Regions from separate parts of the Homo sapiens genome. Here regions 2, 3, 4 and 5 are each linked to region 1. The links are contacts of gene promoters, found by promoter capture Hi-C in blood cells and fetal thymus (Javierre and others, 2016). All regions are on one chromosome and are shown on one strand. Each heading gives the region's core, a stretch centred on a gene start or on the middle of the fragment in contact. The rest is flanking DNA. Distances are from core to core; before and after follow the strand shown. Region 1 holds the start of RPL34 (ribosomal protein L34). Region 2 has its middle 180 kb from the start of LEF1. Region 3 overlaps LEF1 (lymphoid enhancer binding factor 1). Region 4 overlaps LEF1 (lymphoid enhancer binding factor 1). Region 5 has its middle 19 kb from the start of LEF1.

The links. Contacts are between HindIII fragments. The CHiCAGO score rates a contact against its expected background, and 5 or more counts as called.
Region 2: a fragment that was not itself captured here is called in contact with the fragment with the promoter of RPL34 in region 1 in 1 of 17 cell types (fetal thymus); the score reaches 6.4 in fetal thymus.
Region 3: a fragment that was not itself captured here is called in contact with the fragment with the promoter of RPL34 in region 1 in 8 of 17 cell types (fetal thymus, naive CD4 T cells, megakaryocytes and 5 more); the score reaches 13.9 in fetal thymus.
Region 4: a fragment that was not itself captured here is called in contact with the fragment with the promoter of RPL34 in region 1 in 5 of 17 cell types (fetal thymus, activated CD4 T cells, naive CD4 T cells and 2 more); the score reaches 9.6 in fetal thymus.
Region 5: a contact is called between a fragment that was not itself captured here and the fragment with the promoter of RPL34 in region 1, in 1 of 17 cell types (non-activated CD4 T cells). The highest score is 5.3, in non-activated CD4 T cells.

Annotation. Positions count from the first base shown.
Region 1 is chr4:108,619,315-108,622,014 of GRCh38, forward strand. It overlaps RPL34 (ribosomal protein L34), which reads left to right and starts at 1,262. Exons shown (of 5, transcript NM_001319236.2): 1 at 1,262-1,286; 2 at 2,637-2,700. The coding sequence starts at 2,646. It overlaps RPL34-DT (RPL34 divergent transcript), which reads right to left and starts at 1,143. Exons shown (of 4, transcript NR_026968.1): 1 at 994-1,143. RefSeq lists enhancers at 800-1,999, 1,225-1,274. The HindIII fragment of the contact is 3,742 bases long and covers 792-2,700 here.
Region 2 is chr4:108,349,644-108,352,407 of GRCh38, forward strand. No RefSeq gene overlaps it. Among named protein-coding and RNA genes, the nearest start is that of LEF1, 180 kb to the left of the region's middle. The HindIII fragment of the contact is 6,562 bases long and covers 1-2,764 here.
Region 3 is chr4:108,113,618-108,116,317 of GRCh38, forward strand. All of the region lies in intron 3 of LEF1 (lymphoid enhancer binding factor 1), which reads right to left. Among named protein-coding and RNA genes, the nearest start is that of LEF1-AS1, 53 kb to the right of the region's middle. The HindIII fragment of the contact is 1,410 bases long and covers 700-2,109 here.
Region 4 is chr4:108,134,295-108,137,031 of GRCh38, forward strand. All of the region lies in intron 3 of LEF1 (lymphoid enhancer binding factor 1), which reads right to left. Among named protein-coding and RNA genes, the nearest start is that of LEF1-AS1, 32 kb to the right of the region's middle. RefSeq lists an enhancer at 1,123-1,674. The HindIII fragment of the contact is 6,783 bases long and covers 1-2,737 here.
Region 5 is chr4:108,186,975-108,189,674 of GRCh38, forward strand. No RefSeq gene overlaps it. Among named protein-coding and RNA genes, the nearest start is that of LEF1, 19 kb to the left of the region's middle. RefSeq lists an enhancer at 1-326. The HindIII fragment of the contact is 2,561 bases long and covers 160-2,700 here.

The DNA of each region.
Region 1 (2,700 bases), core at 12-2,511:
TTGAGAGTGAGCAGAGGGAAGGATATAACCAGAGCCTTCCATCTGGTGTTGTGACAAAGATGGCAGTGATGTGAGGCTTGATAGAATCAATAGGCCTCACAGTTCAAGACAGACTACATGCCCTCAGTCACTTGCCTGCTTTCTTGGTTTGCTAGATGGATTAGAAATACTAGAAGGAAAGTTGAGTGGGTACTGGGATATCCTATCCAAATCCTCTCTTCTGGGGCAATGCAGCTGCCTCACAGCAACCACGTTGTGGATCACCTGACCCCGCCTTTCTCAGCTTCCTGGAGGTGCATTCTAAGAGCGCTCCCCATAAGCCAACACTCAAGTCTCTTCGAGGTGTGTTTCCAGGGAGCCTGATCTAAGATTAAAAACTTAAAGGCCCCTTTTAGAATTGTCTTTTACAGCCCAGGCAAAGAGTTCTTTACTTTTTTAGAGGTCATGAATCCCTTTGACAAGGTGATGAAAGCCAGGGACCCTCTTCTCAGAAAAATACACACGTGCGCTTAATGTAAAATTTTACATACTGTTTTAAAGGTTAAACTTTACCACCCATGAAAAGCCTCAAGTAGTTCTTTGTACATAATCATAAGATTAGCAACCATTTACTGAGCACTTCCTCTCTATAAGACCCTGTGCTAAGTGCTTTAACTTCATAATGCCTTTGATCATGACATAACATGGCACGGTAGTTCCTAATATCTTCCTTTTAGAGATTTAAGGGCTTGCTCAAAGTAACATAGCTAATAATTAGCAGACACTGGATTAAAATCCCAATTTGTTTGTAAAGCTTGTGCTCTGAATAAATGACAAGGAAAGAGAAGGGAAGGTTGAAGAAGGGAAGGTTCTTGAAGGTCCCTGGTCCTTGAAGGTCCCTTAACCATAAATGTCAAGAGTTGGGATTTAAACCCAGGTCTAACGCCAGAGCTGGCGCCCTTTAGATTAAAAGTGCAGTGTCCATGACAACGAAAGAAGTTGATTTTGTCCCACCTTTGCTCTTTGCGGCTTTTCATTTGCGTTTGTTTCCACAGCGATTTCCAATAGATTTCTGCGTGGCCTTGACACAGACAGCTAGTGTGAATCCCCGCCCACAGAGGGGCGGCACGTTGGTTGCCGTACAACGTGGTGGTTCCCTGCATCTCTGCCCACGTCGGAGAGGTGCGTCGGCTTCCGTACAACACGGATACTCTCTCTCTGACGCAACTTCCTGTCCTGCGCAATTCTATTTGACCTTTGAACTGGCAAAGGCTTTTTTCTTCCTCTTCCGGGGACGTTGTCTGCAGGTATGGATGTTGTTCTCTTTTCCCTGTCTTTATTTCCTTACCAATCGGCTGCCATCCGAGGAGCTGAGGAAGCCTAGAGCTCTCAGAAGCAGTCCTTTGAGCTGGTGTAGGGGTAAGGGGCACAACAGGGAGGTTGGTGGTGAGGAAGTTCCTTACTTTGATCTTTGGAAATCCCTTGTTCCTGGTGGCACCTCCAAAGCCGTGAGTAGCCACAGCTCACCACCCGGGACTTTGCTGCATTCCAAGTGTAGCGTTTGGAGACTAACGAGTTGTGGTTTGGCGGTTTGAGTCTGGAAAATCGCCAAACGTTTTCATATTTTACACCCACGTTTTCACAGCACGCCTGTACGTGTCCTTAGTCTTTGGGAGGGCAGGGTCCGGCGAGTTCGGGTGGTTTCGCTATTTGGCTTCTGCGTCCAAGGCCCATGTCAAGGAAGAGAAAAATGTGTTAGAAGTTTCTGTCTTGCTTTTGGAGATGCAAACAGAATAATGGCTTCATAAATCACTCGCACTGGTTTTACGTGTCAAGTTTTGGTGTCTGGTAATTCTGTTTTAGTTTAATTTTAGTGAGAGGCTTGTGACAACAAATGAGGTGGTTACAAGGGGTGGAATGGGAAGATTAAATTAGTTCAAGTATTGATTATGTTTTACGTTGGGTAGTTCCCTTAACGAAGTTGCTCGTATGCATATCTGTATAACCGATTTGCTAAATAACATCACGATGTTTCCAGAAGTGGGAAGAAAGCAGGTGCCATAACCCAAAGAAACTTGTGTAATATCAAAATTAGTATTAAAGGGTATGCCTTTACGCAGGTGGTGCTTTAGGGCAAGACATTGAACCCTGATATGTGCCAGGCATTGTGTTGGGACGGATAGCCCACGTCGTTTAATCCTAATGACAGCTGTATAAAGTAGACAGAATTCCCATGTTAGAGATAAGGAGGCTAGCTCCTTGCCCTTTATATTCCCAGTAAATGGCATAGCTAAGGATTCGACTTCAGAGCTCACTTTTTGTGCTCTTTGTTTAAAGCGGTGTTTCTCCAACTGGGCTCGTGGCACTTTTCTGGACACCACTCCAAACAAAATTAGACTCTGAGTAAGGAGCCTGGTCATCAGAACGTTAAGGAAGTGCCACGTTTGATTACCATCAGGAAAGCTAACATTCTTGGCCTCTTGTTTATCAGTCACCTTTAAATACAAGTAGTTTTAAAATGTGGAATAATACATCTTAATTTAAGGGTGTTACATACAAGGATATGTATGTGAATGAAATAGACCACATGATACTGTTTTGAGATTTTATTTACTTTTACAATGGAAAGATTTGATGTTACTCTATTCTTAATTTAGGCACTCAGAATGGTCCAGCGTTTGACATACCGACGTAGGCTTTCCTACAATACAGCCTCTAACA
Region 2 (2,764 bases), core at 212-2,711, 270 kb before region 1:
TACCAGTCCCTGGTGGAGGCCTAAATTCTGGGAGTGTCCCAGCCCCAATCTACTCCCTCTGCCTGCCCTCTGGGAGGCTGAGGTGAGGGAGGTGGGTGTACCCACTAGCAAAACGTGATCCCAGGCCTGGGTCCGTTCCTCTGTTTTGCCTTTGCTTAAAACGTGCGGGAGGGCTCCTTTGAAGGCCAGAGAAAGGCAAGTCCATCATCTGGGAGGAGGAGACACACACATAGGATGTCACCATGCCATATCCTTAGTCCCTCGCTGGACTGGGTCAGATTTGGAGGTAAGGCTGTGAAAACATCCAGTCACCCAGTCACTGCCTGGCCTCCGCCAATGTGTCCTGACTCCAACCCAGTCTAGTAAGCCCCTTTTGGACTCTCACTGCTCTGTCACTCCTGTGTTCACTTCCTATATTTTCACACAGATGTGGCTTAGTGTTTTCTTTCTAAGGCATATTTTGCATGGAAGAATGCTTCCAGTGAGCTGAGGCCCTAATTGCCAAATAATGGTTGCCAAAACATGTTATTTTGGCTTCAAGCTGGTACAGAGCTGAGGCATTTTCCCCTCTTAAAAAAAAAAAAAAAAATCCATCCTCAGCAGCCCAAGGGCCATTTGCAAACACACAGGACTGAGCCCTCCATGGCTCTTCCTTCAGCTGGTGAGGGTGACTCCTTGTCACTTGAGGCAGCCTCAGTGGACCTCGTCCTTGCACGGGGGAAGCTCCACGGTGGGGCCGCCTCTGGGCTGTGGGCGCCAGGCTAAACGAAGGTGCTGAGACTTGCCTCCCACCAAGCCCCGCCAAGGGCTGCCTGCTCTGCCACGAGGGGTGTTCCTGCCGCCCCGCGCTGCAGTGGGAAGTGTCTGCCAGCTAACTGCAAACACAAGCCTACCAGCAAGCACGGGAATTCCAGATAGAGACAAATCTAGGGCCTCAGGGGAAGCTGGATGGAACTGATCAGTGTGAGAGATATCACCGCTAATTAAGTCCTGATCCCCTGGCTCCACTTGAAACAAACCAAGGAGGGATCAAGTTTTGCGAGCAGGTGCTAACTGGTTGCAAAAGAGGAGTCCATCACTTCAGCAAAAGGTTTCACTGTACCTTGGGGAGGACACAGCTTTTCTGAGGAAAGTCATTACTGGACAGAGCCATAGGCTCTTATTTTGTCTTAGGACACGGAGGAGCTTGTAAAAAACAAAAAAACACAAAAAACAATCCTCCGCTGTGACAAACAACTGTTTTCCTTTCCTGTGTTTTCCCCTTGATGGCTGATTTACTTTCTCCTCAGATGGACAATGGAGTAATTTACAGGTCAGTAAACACTTTCCTGGAGATGCCGGAGCAGTTTCATTTTGGTACAGATAATATGGGATTTGTTGTGACTCAGAATATCAGTCCAGAGTGGGACTGACACAGCCACCTACCCTGACTGTTTAAGAAAAAACAATTCTAAGTACAATGCATAAATAAACCTAACAGCAAATACTTACCTGCAGAAAGAAAATCTGAGAGCTCCATGAGTATTGTGTATGTGTGTGTGAAGAGGGAAAGTGATGTGTTAAGGAGCTGGACAAATATCCTGTCAAACATCCATGATTTTTTTTATTCTCGGAAATGTTGCCTTGATTCTAGAAATTATGACTTTGAATACCTACTAACATGTACTGGGCACTTCTATGTGCCCGGAGCTCTGCCAAGTGTTTTACATTCATTATCTCATTTGACCTTTATGAGGGCCATAGGAAGTAGATGTGACTTAGAGATGTTAAATAACACCTCTAGTAAGTGACCCGCCAAAGTTTGGAATGCCACCAGAGTGTGTATTTCTAAACGTGATGCTATCCTGCCTCCCAACTTTGGATTCTGCACAGAAATAGCAAAATACTTTGCACATTAAGTGCCCAAGAAATGCATTAAGTGAATGATTGAACAATGATTGAATGGTGATATTAAGGACTCACTGTTTTTGCAATATTGTAAGCATCTTTTCAAATTATTCCCATACGTTCGTACTAAAACAGTAACTTGGGAAATTGTTCTACTATACGTTAAGTCTGACAGTCTAGAGATCTCTGATTTTGGGGACAATATTTGTATTGAGTAAAAAAAATTATTCTGAGGGTCTTCCTTTGATCTGAGTGAAGAATGTTTTGAATCTTGACAGGGCTGGACCTACATTTGGCACATTTTGATAACCTGCAGGCAAGTTGGCTGAAGTTGCTGGCAGTGACTCCAGAAATCATTATCAACATAATTTCCTTTTTCTTATGACATGTAATCCTTCCCCTATCCTCACAACCCAATCTTTCGACCACTCTTGATAGTGGGAGGCTGCTGCTTTGAGTCATGTACCCAGCCACTGAGCACAGGCTTTCTCTGGAATGTGTCCTGTGTTGATTGCACTATTTATTAGTTTTATAGCAACAGAGCTGAGTGCTTCTTTGGTGTCTTTCTTGGGATTGTGTACATCATTCAGCCAGAAACAAAGAGTAGTTTGGATCCTTGCTGGCACCTGAACTGACTTGAAAGGGAATTTAGAGTTAAATCCTTATAACGCATAGATGTTTATGAGAAACATTGTTTTATACATGTTTATGGAAATAAAATTATTTCAAATGATGGTGCTTGAGGGTACTATGAGATGAGACAGGGCTGAGCTCAATAGTGAAGGCACAGAAATGGAAATGCTAAAGGGAGTTTTAATGGTTGGCTTTAGCTCTGATGGGGGCAACGAGGCCTTAACCTTGTTTTCTTTACCAGCTC
Region 3 (2,700 bases), core at 155-2,654, 510 kb before region 1:
ACTACAAATCTGCTCTTCGAAGAATTCAACAGGACCTCCCTGGCACTCCTTCAAATGGGAGGATGGGCAAATGCAAAACAGCAGTAATGTGTTGGGAGGGTGGGACCATGGATAAATTGCAGGTATGCATGTCGAGAGAAAAGTAAGAGAGGCAAGGAGGATGAAGCACTATGTGGCTATTTCTACTACTCAGCTACCCACTGTCACAAGTGCTTAGAATAATCATTTTGAATAAAAGAAAAGACGGATCCAATTGAAAGTTGCTTTGTTCTGCTTTCAGCTGTAAAAGATTTAGTTCTAGACCCTAAACTCATTTAAAAAACCACTATATGAAGACAAAGAATAAAAAATAAACACATAAGTTTAAAGCAATCTGGAGTTTTTTTTAAGGCAAGTATGTTATAGAAAATTCAAGAAGTTATGATTACTCAAAAATTTTGAGCTATTTATTAACATTTATCAAAAGCTATTCTTTTCATTGCAGAAAATCAGCATATTTAAGTCAGTAGTTACAGTCATACTCTGTGACTGTAATAGGCCAGTTATTTAGCATTTAGGCAAACAAACATAAAGGAAAAGTGTCCTTCAGAGATTTTCTCTCTTCTTTATTGTTAACCCACTTGGTAAGCAAACTAATTTAAAAAGTATTATCAGAGTCAAGTAAAGGAATCTGTAACAAGAAGCCAGGGAGGAGGACCAAGCTTGGCCTAAACGATAAAGGGTTTGTAAAAGCACTTTGTATGCAAAGAATCATATATATGATGATAATGATCATCATCATCACAGTCAAAACAGCAGGATAAGAAATGTCAACTAGGCCCTTCCAGAAAGTGGTTATTGCAGAAACAACACACAAGCATCTTATGTTAACAAGAAAAGGTCAAAATGAGGAAAACAGCAAAGCCATGGTGAAAAGGTAAGCAGTTTGGGGAAACAGCCCCAAGTGATGTGAAAACAAGAGTGTTTTCTAGATGTGGACGTTTAAGTGTGGTGCATATGAGCAGACAAACTCTGCGAGCTAAAGATATGGGACTTAATGTCTGAGGAGATAACACGAAAATACTGTGAGCAGCAGCCAAAGAGCAAGGAAAACACCTTGCCTTCTGGAAAAGGGTTTAAAGAGAGAGCCTTAGGACTTCCGTCAGGGGCTATCAGGTTACATCACGTTGAAGTGTATGTGCAATGTCTGAGAGAACTACCCTTCCTTGTTATAAATGGAACAGCCGGCTTCCTCTGTGAACAGAAACTCCAGAGACCACTGCCCTGCATTTGCCCAGGATGGAATTATCCCGAGCAGCACTTATGGGGCTCGAGGAGGGCAGGGAGCTGCTGCCTAAAAGGAACGGAATGGGATGGGATGGGACAGGAGGAGACGAGCATCCGAATTGTGCTCCCACTGGCCTGCTGTGGACAACCTAAATCCAGGAGGCTAAATTTAAAGAAGCAATTTATAATCCATTTTAGGTTGTAAGGCTTCAAATAAAGATCTATGTCCACATATAATTCCATGCGCACACCTATACTATCTGTTAGGGACAAAAAGTATCTACTGACAATGCAAGTATCCAAATTTATATATTGGAAATGAGCTATCCAAATAGATCAGAGATCAATAGACACAACTGAATGAATATGAGGGCAAGAACAGTAGTAGTAAGTAGAAACAGTGGTGAGACTTGATCAAGAGAAGTTACTCAGATATAATTCGGTTTAATACTGGGAAGCTACCCGCTCTCTCAGTGGCTATGGTGAGTCCATGTCATTCTTCTGCTATGTAACCTTGAGAAAATTTCTTTTTAAGTGTTAATTTTAAGATGGTTCACATTATTGGTCTTGCTAAATACAAGTGTGCTAATAACCCAAGAATTGGTAACTCTGAGCTCTATCTCAAAAATAAATAGTAGCTGATGCCACAGAATAGATAATTGCTATCAAAACAGTAGGATGAAGCTGAGTCCTAATCAGACTGGAAGAGGTTAAAGAGAGAAAGAATAAGATAGTTGTGTAGCTGCTGCTGTAGAAATAGATAAGACTAACCTCTCTCTGCTTCTGGCATTTACAGCATGAGAAAAAAGAATCTGTAATGGAAAATGTTGAAAGATACACTGAAGCTTTTCAAAACATCAGAGCAGTGAGACCTTGAAATTCATTTACTTCAATCCTTGCATTTTACCAATAAGGAAACTGAGGCCCAGAGAGGTTAAAAGGTCTGCCTATAATGTAACACATACACACACACACACACACACACACACACACACACACACACGGCTGTAAGGCAGGCCTGCGGTCTGAAGGCTGCAGTGCCCCTTCCTCTTTACTGCTTTCTTCCCTCTACTGAGGAGCAGTTATGGAAAGCTATTTTTGTAGAGACAATTGAGGTCCCTGACAATGACAGAAGGAAAATAAATGGTGGTTTCAATTCCAAGTTAAGCTATAGGCTCACTGCTGTGCTCCCGCCCAGGCAAGATTTTGACTCTGAGGTAAAATAAGAGAGTCAAATCTGATCAAGGTAGCTGTGTGGGAGTTGGCTTGGAACTCAAACAGTGAAAAGGGCAGGGGGACATGAGCTGGACTCAGCTGACAGGAAAGAGAAACAGTAAGCAAGAAAAAAGGGTGCAGGCCAGGCACAGTGGCTCACACCTGTAATCCCAGCACTTTGGGAGGCCGAGGTGAGAGGACTGCTTGAACCCAGGAGTT
Region 4 (2,737 bases), core at 198-2,697, 480 kb before region 1:
CCTTCCACTATTGGAAGACAGCTCTTACACTTCTCCCTTATCCACTGTGCCTCCACACGTCATACTTCTAAATTATCAACTGACAAATTAACCTAGTGTAATCAAAGAGGGCTAGAATAGGGCTCTACTGCTCATCCAGAGCAGCTTTCTTTCTTTATTTAAAGTTCAAATGTAGAATAATACAGGGCACTGGAGGAGCAGGCTACAGCACTGGCACTCCATCCTAGAAAAGAGGAGACTGGAGAAGCTGATGGGCCACACAGAGTTATTCCAAATACATCAAGACATACAGATGAAGGATTAAACTCTTATCAATGTGATTCCAAAACAGGATAAAAAAGAGCACGTATTGCCCATTACAATGTGCTAGGCACATCTGATGGTTTGCATGCATACTCTCCATTCCTCACTCTGCTCTATGAAGTAGGAGGTAACATCGTTTTATACATGAGGAAATTAAAACCCTGAGAAGTTAAAGTAAATGGCTCAAGGTCACATAGCAAGCCAAAGGGAGATCCAGGATTCTTATCTGATTCCCAAGTTGAAGCAGAACCCTTTCATATACTCAAAGGGTAATGATAACCCACCCAGCATCCCTGCTTCTTCATACATTTTAATCAATGACTTTAAAAGGGATACAGATGCCTGCCTTTCAAATTCCCATATGACAAGAAAATGGAAGGAATAAAAAACACTACATCACTAGGTCCAAAAAGACCCCAAATGACTAAAGTGACCAAGTGAATTGAGAAGGGGGGTGCTAATATAGATTACAATAAAACATTGCAAGTTGATGGGTCCATAAACCAAACTTGTTAGAGGAAGACAGGAGTTTTAGCTGCCTAAAATCTACTTTGAGCCCAGGTGTCAAGACGCTATTAAGACTCTAAAACCTGCAGCGCATTAATGGAACTCAAACATCCAGAATGAGGGAAGCTACAGACCACTCCTATCCTGTGGGGGGCCAGCTCAATCTGAAGCACTGAGTGTACTTCAAAACCCAAACTTTTATTGGGCCAAAACAAAGAATGTAACTAGGAGTGGGGCCACAACAGCAAACGTTCTGAAACCAGCAGGCACGGAGAATTAAGACTGTTTAGCCTGGAAGAGTGATAAAGGGTAGGAGGAGGCAAATGACAGCAGGCTCAAATACAGATGGAGATGTGCTTCCATCTATTTCTGGTGATGGCCCTGAAATGCAAGCATCCCTTCCAGTGGAGGCTCAGGATGGCGAGAGTGAAGGTGGAGGGAGTTATTCCCACTGGGGGACTGGCATGCCCCAGGAGAGGTACAGTGCTGTGTCTGCTAGCCGGCAAGAACAGGGGCCTCTAGGCAACAACGCCCTGCTTTGTCTATGGAGAGCCTCTAGCAGTGGGAACTGGGGGTAAGGAAGCTGGCTGAGTGACACTTCAATGGCCTGCCAGCGGGGGAGTTGTTTTTAGGCAAGTGGAGACTTGTAGCCCTCCTCCAGCCATATAGTGTAGGTAATTATCCACTGTGAGTCCTTCAAGCTAACCTGCTTGGAGCCTGCAATTCCTTCTGCTCTCCTCCCACGCACCCCATGGGCTGGCTCCAAGAACTTTTTCTTTTTGGCTTCATCCCCCTTTCCCCCAATCCTGCCCAAATGTGAACTGTACAAACAGTATGACTTCTTCCTTGCCCATACATGAAGAAAATCAGTCACAAAATTACTACACAAACAGGTTGAATGAGCAAAAACTGGTCTCAGCTGCTCAGGGGAAGGTGATGATGTGATGTGAAAATAATGAAATCTTTCAAGGGTTAAAATTCAGGTAGAAAAAAACAAAACAAGTTATGGTAGACAAGAGAAGAAAACAGGAAATAACTCTGAACTTAAATGTAAAATAACTTTCAGAAGCATAGTTCATTTTTTCTAAAATAAATGTGCAAACATTAGAAGTTCCATAAAGAACCTGCACCTATAAAATTTCACGTGGTGTTGGTTTAGCATGCTATAAAATTCGTATCTTTCTTAACCATTTCTGCTTTGTCCTTCTACTATATGCGTATTCCCCCCAAAACCTTCAAAACTTAAATTCTACTGGCTATTTGACCAAGTATTCTAAAATCAAAGGATTAATCTTTATAAAAACATGTACAGTTATATAGCATATTGCCAGTTCAAATACTTCTCATCTCCTTAAATTTCCTTTTTTTTTTTTTTTTTAAACTTTAGATGCTTATGCTGCATAGTATTATAACAATTCCAGGTTTGGATACCCCACCCAGATCTGGAAAGTTCAGCAATACATATGATCAAATGCCAGAAGTTTGCCTTTCAGGGGTCTTATAACTGCAGACCTAGAGTTACGATTCACACATTGTATAAAACATGCTATTGTAATTCTTACGGTGACTGAATAGTTAAATCTAATAATATAGGGTCATTTGCCCTTCAGTAAGGTGTCTTTTTCTTTAAAAAACATAAATGTTTGTGATTATTTACCCTACTGTGCTTATAAGATTTTAAAAATAATGTTCTAACTCAAAATATCCAAGGGTAAAAAGGGAAATAACTTCCAATAATTTTTATGAAATTATATAAGTATGTAGTCATTGAAAACTAAATAGCTACCAATAAGGGCTCTAAGTCTTCCTTTAAAATTCTGAGAGGTTGTCTGGTCATTTTTGCTAAGGATAAAGCTATTTAACCCAGACTAAGTTTCTTCTGGCTTATTAAAAAGTCAACTTTTTCTTTATTGTAAGTACTTTAAAA
Region 5 (2,700 bases), core at 190-2,689, 430 kb before region 1:
TAGGGAGACAGAAGATATCAACAAAGACATAGATCAATACATGCAAGGTATACATTGGTTTGGCCCCAAAAGGCAGGACACGTCATAGTATGAGGGGGTTACTTATAGGTCACAGGCGGATTCAAAGATTTTCGGATTGACAATTGGTTGAAAAAGTTAAGCTTTGTCTAGACTTGAAGTCAGTACAAAGACACGCTAGAGTCAAGATGCGGGGAGGATTGTGAAATCCAAGGTTCTTGTTATTTAGATTAAACCTCCAGGTAACAGCCTTAGAATAGATGGTAAATGTCTCTTTTCAAAACTTTTCGAAACAAAACTCTCCTTTAGTCCCTTTTAGATCCAGGAAAAACTAGAAAGGGAAGGAGATTTTCTAGAGATGCAAATTTCCCCGAGAGAGGGCTTTCTAGGGCCATTTCAAAATATGTCAAAGAAATATATTTTAGGGTAAAATCACTTTATTTCCTTCAGAGTCTTCTATCTCATGTGATGCTATATCAGAATCAGGTTGGAATTTGGTAACTTATTGCCACAAAGAGTCTGTTTCTGTCAGTCTTATGATCTCTATTTCAGTGTTAATGCTGGTCAGTTGTCCTAAACTCTAGAAGGGAGGGGTATAACCAGGCATGCCTGACGTCCCTTCCTCTTATGGCTGGGAATTCAGTTTTTCGTGTTTCTCTGGGATCCCCTTGGCACAGAGGGGGTCCATACAGTCAGTTGGGGGGCTTGGCATTTTTTTGGTTTACAAACTTAGGTCAGTTTATGTCCCTCCTCTGCTCAGAATGCCCCAGCAGCTTACCATTTCCCAATGTTCTGCAGGATCCTGTGTGATCTACACCCACCTCTTACTTTTCTGATCTCATCTCTCACTGTTCCCCTTGCTTTCTGTGCATTGGCCACTTGAGTTTATTTGCTTTCTCAAATCTTGGGCATGTTCTTACCCCAGCATCTTTGCAGAGGCTATTTCCTTTCTTCGTAGTAATGTTTCCCCAGATCTTCACATGGCTCACTCCCTCACCTCCTGCAGGTCTTTCCAAATATCCCTTGTCAGTAAGGTCTTCCCTGATCACCCTATTTAAAATTATAACTCCTCCCCTAGCTGTTGGTACTCTTTATCCTCGTCTCTCACTATATTTGTAGTACTTATTACCAGCTGACATCCTATGTATTTTATTCATTTATTTTTATTTTTTGACTGTCTTCCCTAGTAGAATGTAATTCCCTGGAGGGAAGGGATTTTTGTCTGTTTCCTTCATTGCTATAAATCTAGGCACCTAGAACAGTTCCTGACTTGCAGATAGAATCCAATAAATGTTTGTTGAATGAAAGAATATCTACAAAAATACATACACAAAAGTATCGTAGCACATAGTACCTATATACTTTACCTCTTGTTATTGTTGTGATCTCCTAAATGGATATAGCTTAATATACATATAAACAATAAATCATATTTTAAACAAATCAGGGAAGCTGTTATTAGAAGGCATTTGATGGCCCTTTTTTAAAGGTAAAAGTTCCATTTAAAAGTAAACAGTCATACTCTAATTTGTCTGTGTTGTCAATGTGACCTGCTTCTCTAGAGACAACTCTTTTGGAATGCTCTATTGAGCAGGCAGGTATTATGAAGCTATTTCTAATTGATAGGGAGAAGAGTAAACAAAATATCTGAAAAGTTCTGTTTTTCAGTGGCCTGGATGGAATTCCACCAGGCCCCTCAGGACAGTTGTTGGGCCAGGCTTTATCCTTGCTGAGCTGTTTCAGGCCTTACAAGAGTATTTGAAGGTTTCCAGGGGTTGGGGAGCCTTGGCTTGGTGGTATGGGAGATGATTTTGAGTGATTTACAGGACTAGCAATAAATTATTTTCACTCAAATCATGAGAAAACTATTTCCTTTTCTATTCTCTATCAGTCTAGTACCTGTAGCAGCCTCTGTTGGAACCTGGCCCATACCTTTTCACCTTTATCAAGTGGGTGTATGCCTGCCAGAGTTACACCTACAGCCCTTATATTCTTTGCCCAAGGCCTTCTCTTGACTATGAGACCTGCTTTGCTGCCCACAAGGCAACCCAGGAATGCTGGGGAATTAATGTCCTAGGGATTGACCTTCAACAAGTGACTAATAGCAGTTGGTGTATAAATACCCCGTCTCTCTCATTCTTTGTGTAGGCGAATTCTGAGGTGTGTTTTACACTGGCTCCCTGAGTTTCCTCAGAGGGATGAAGCTCTAGTTGTCCACAGTGAGAGCTGGCTTGATAATATGTTATTCAATTGCTTCCTTCTCTTTTCTGCCTCACTTCCCACCTCCTTCATTGTGTTTCCACATTTCCTTCACCTCGCAAGTAAACTAATTGCAACTGAATTCTAGTCACAGGTTTGCTTCTGGGAAAACTTGAACTACAGTACCTGCAAATCTTTAACCATTTCTAGTGCCTGTTTATTTCCCTTTTTACCAGAGAGCTAGATCAGGTCTCAGGCTAGAAACCTCGAGTTGTTGAGAGAATCTTGCTAGAATTTATACTAAGAGGGTTTTTTTCCCCTTCATTATATTTATTTTTTAATTGCCTACTATTTATTGTGATATTAGATTTTCCATTTACTATTGTGATATAACTGGATTCATGTAAGAACTACTTTATTTAAACCAATTGGTTTAAATAAAATGCTTATAATAAGACTGGTGGTAAAGAGATATGGCAAAAA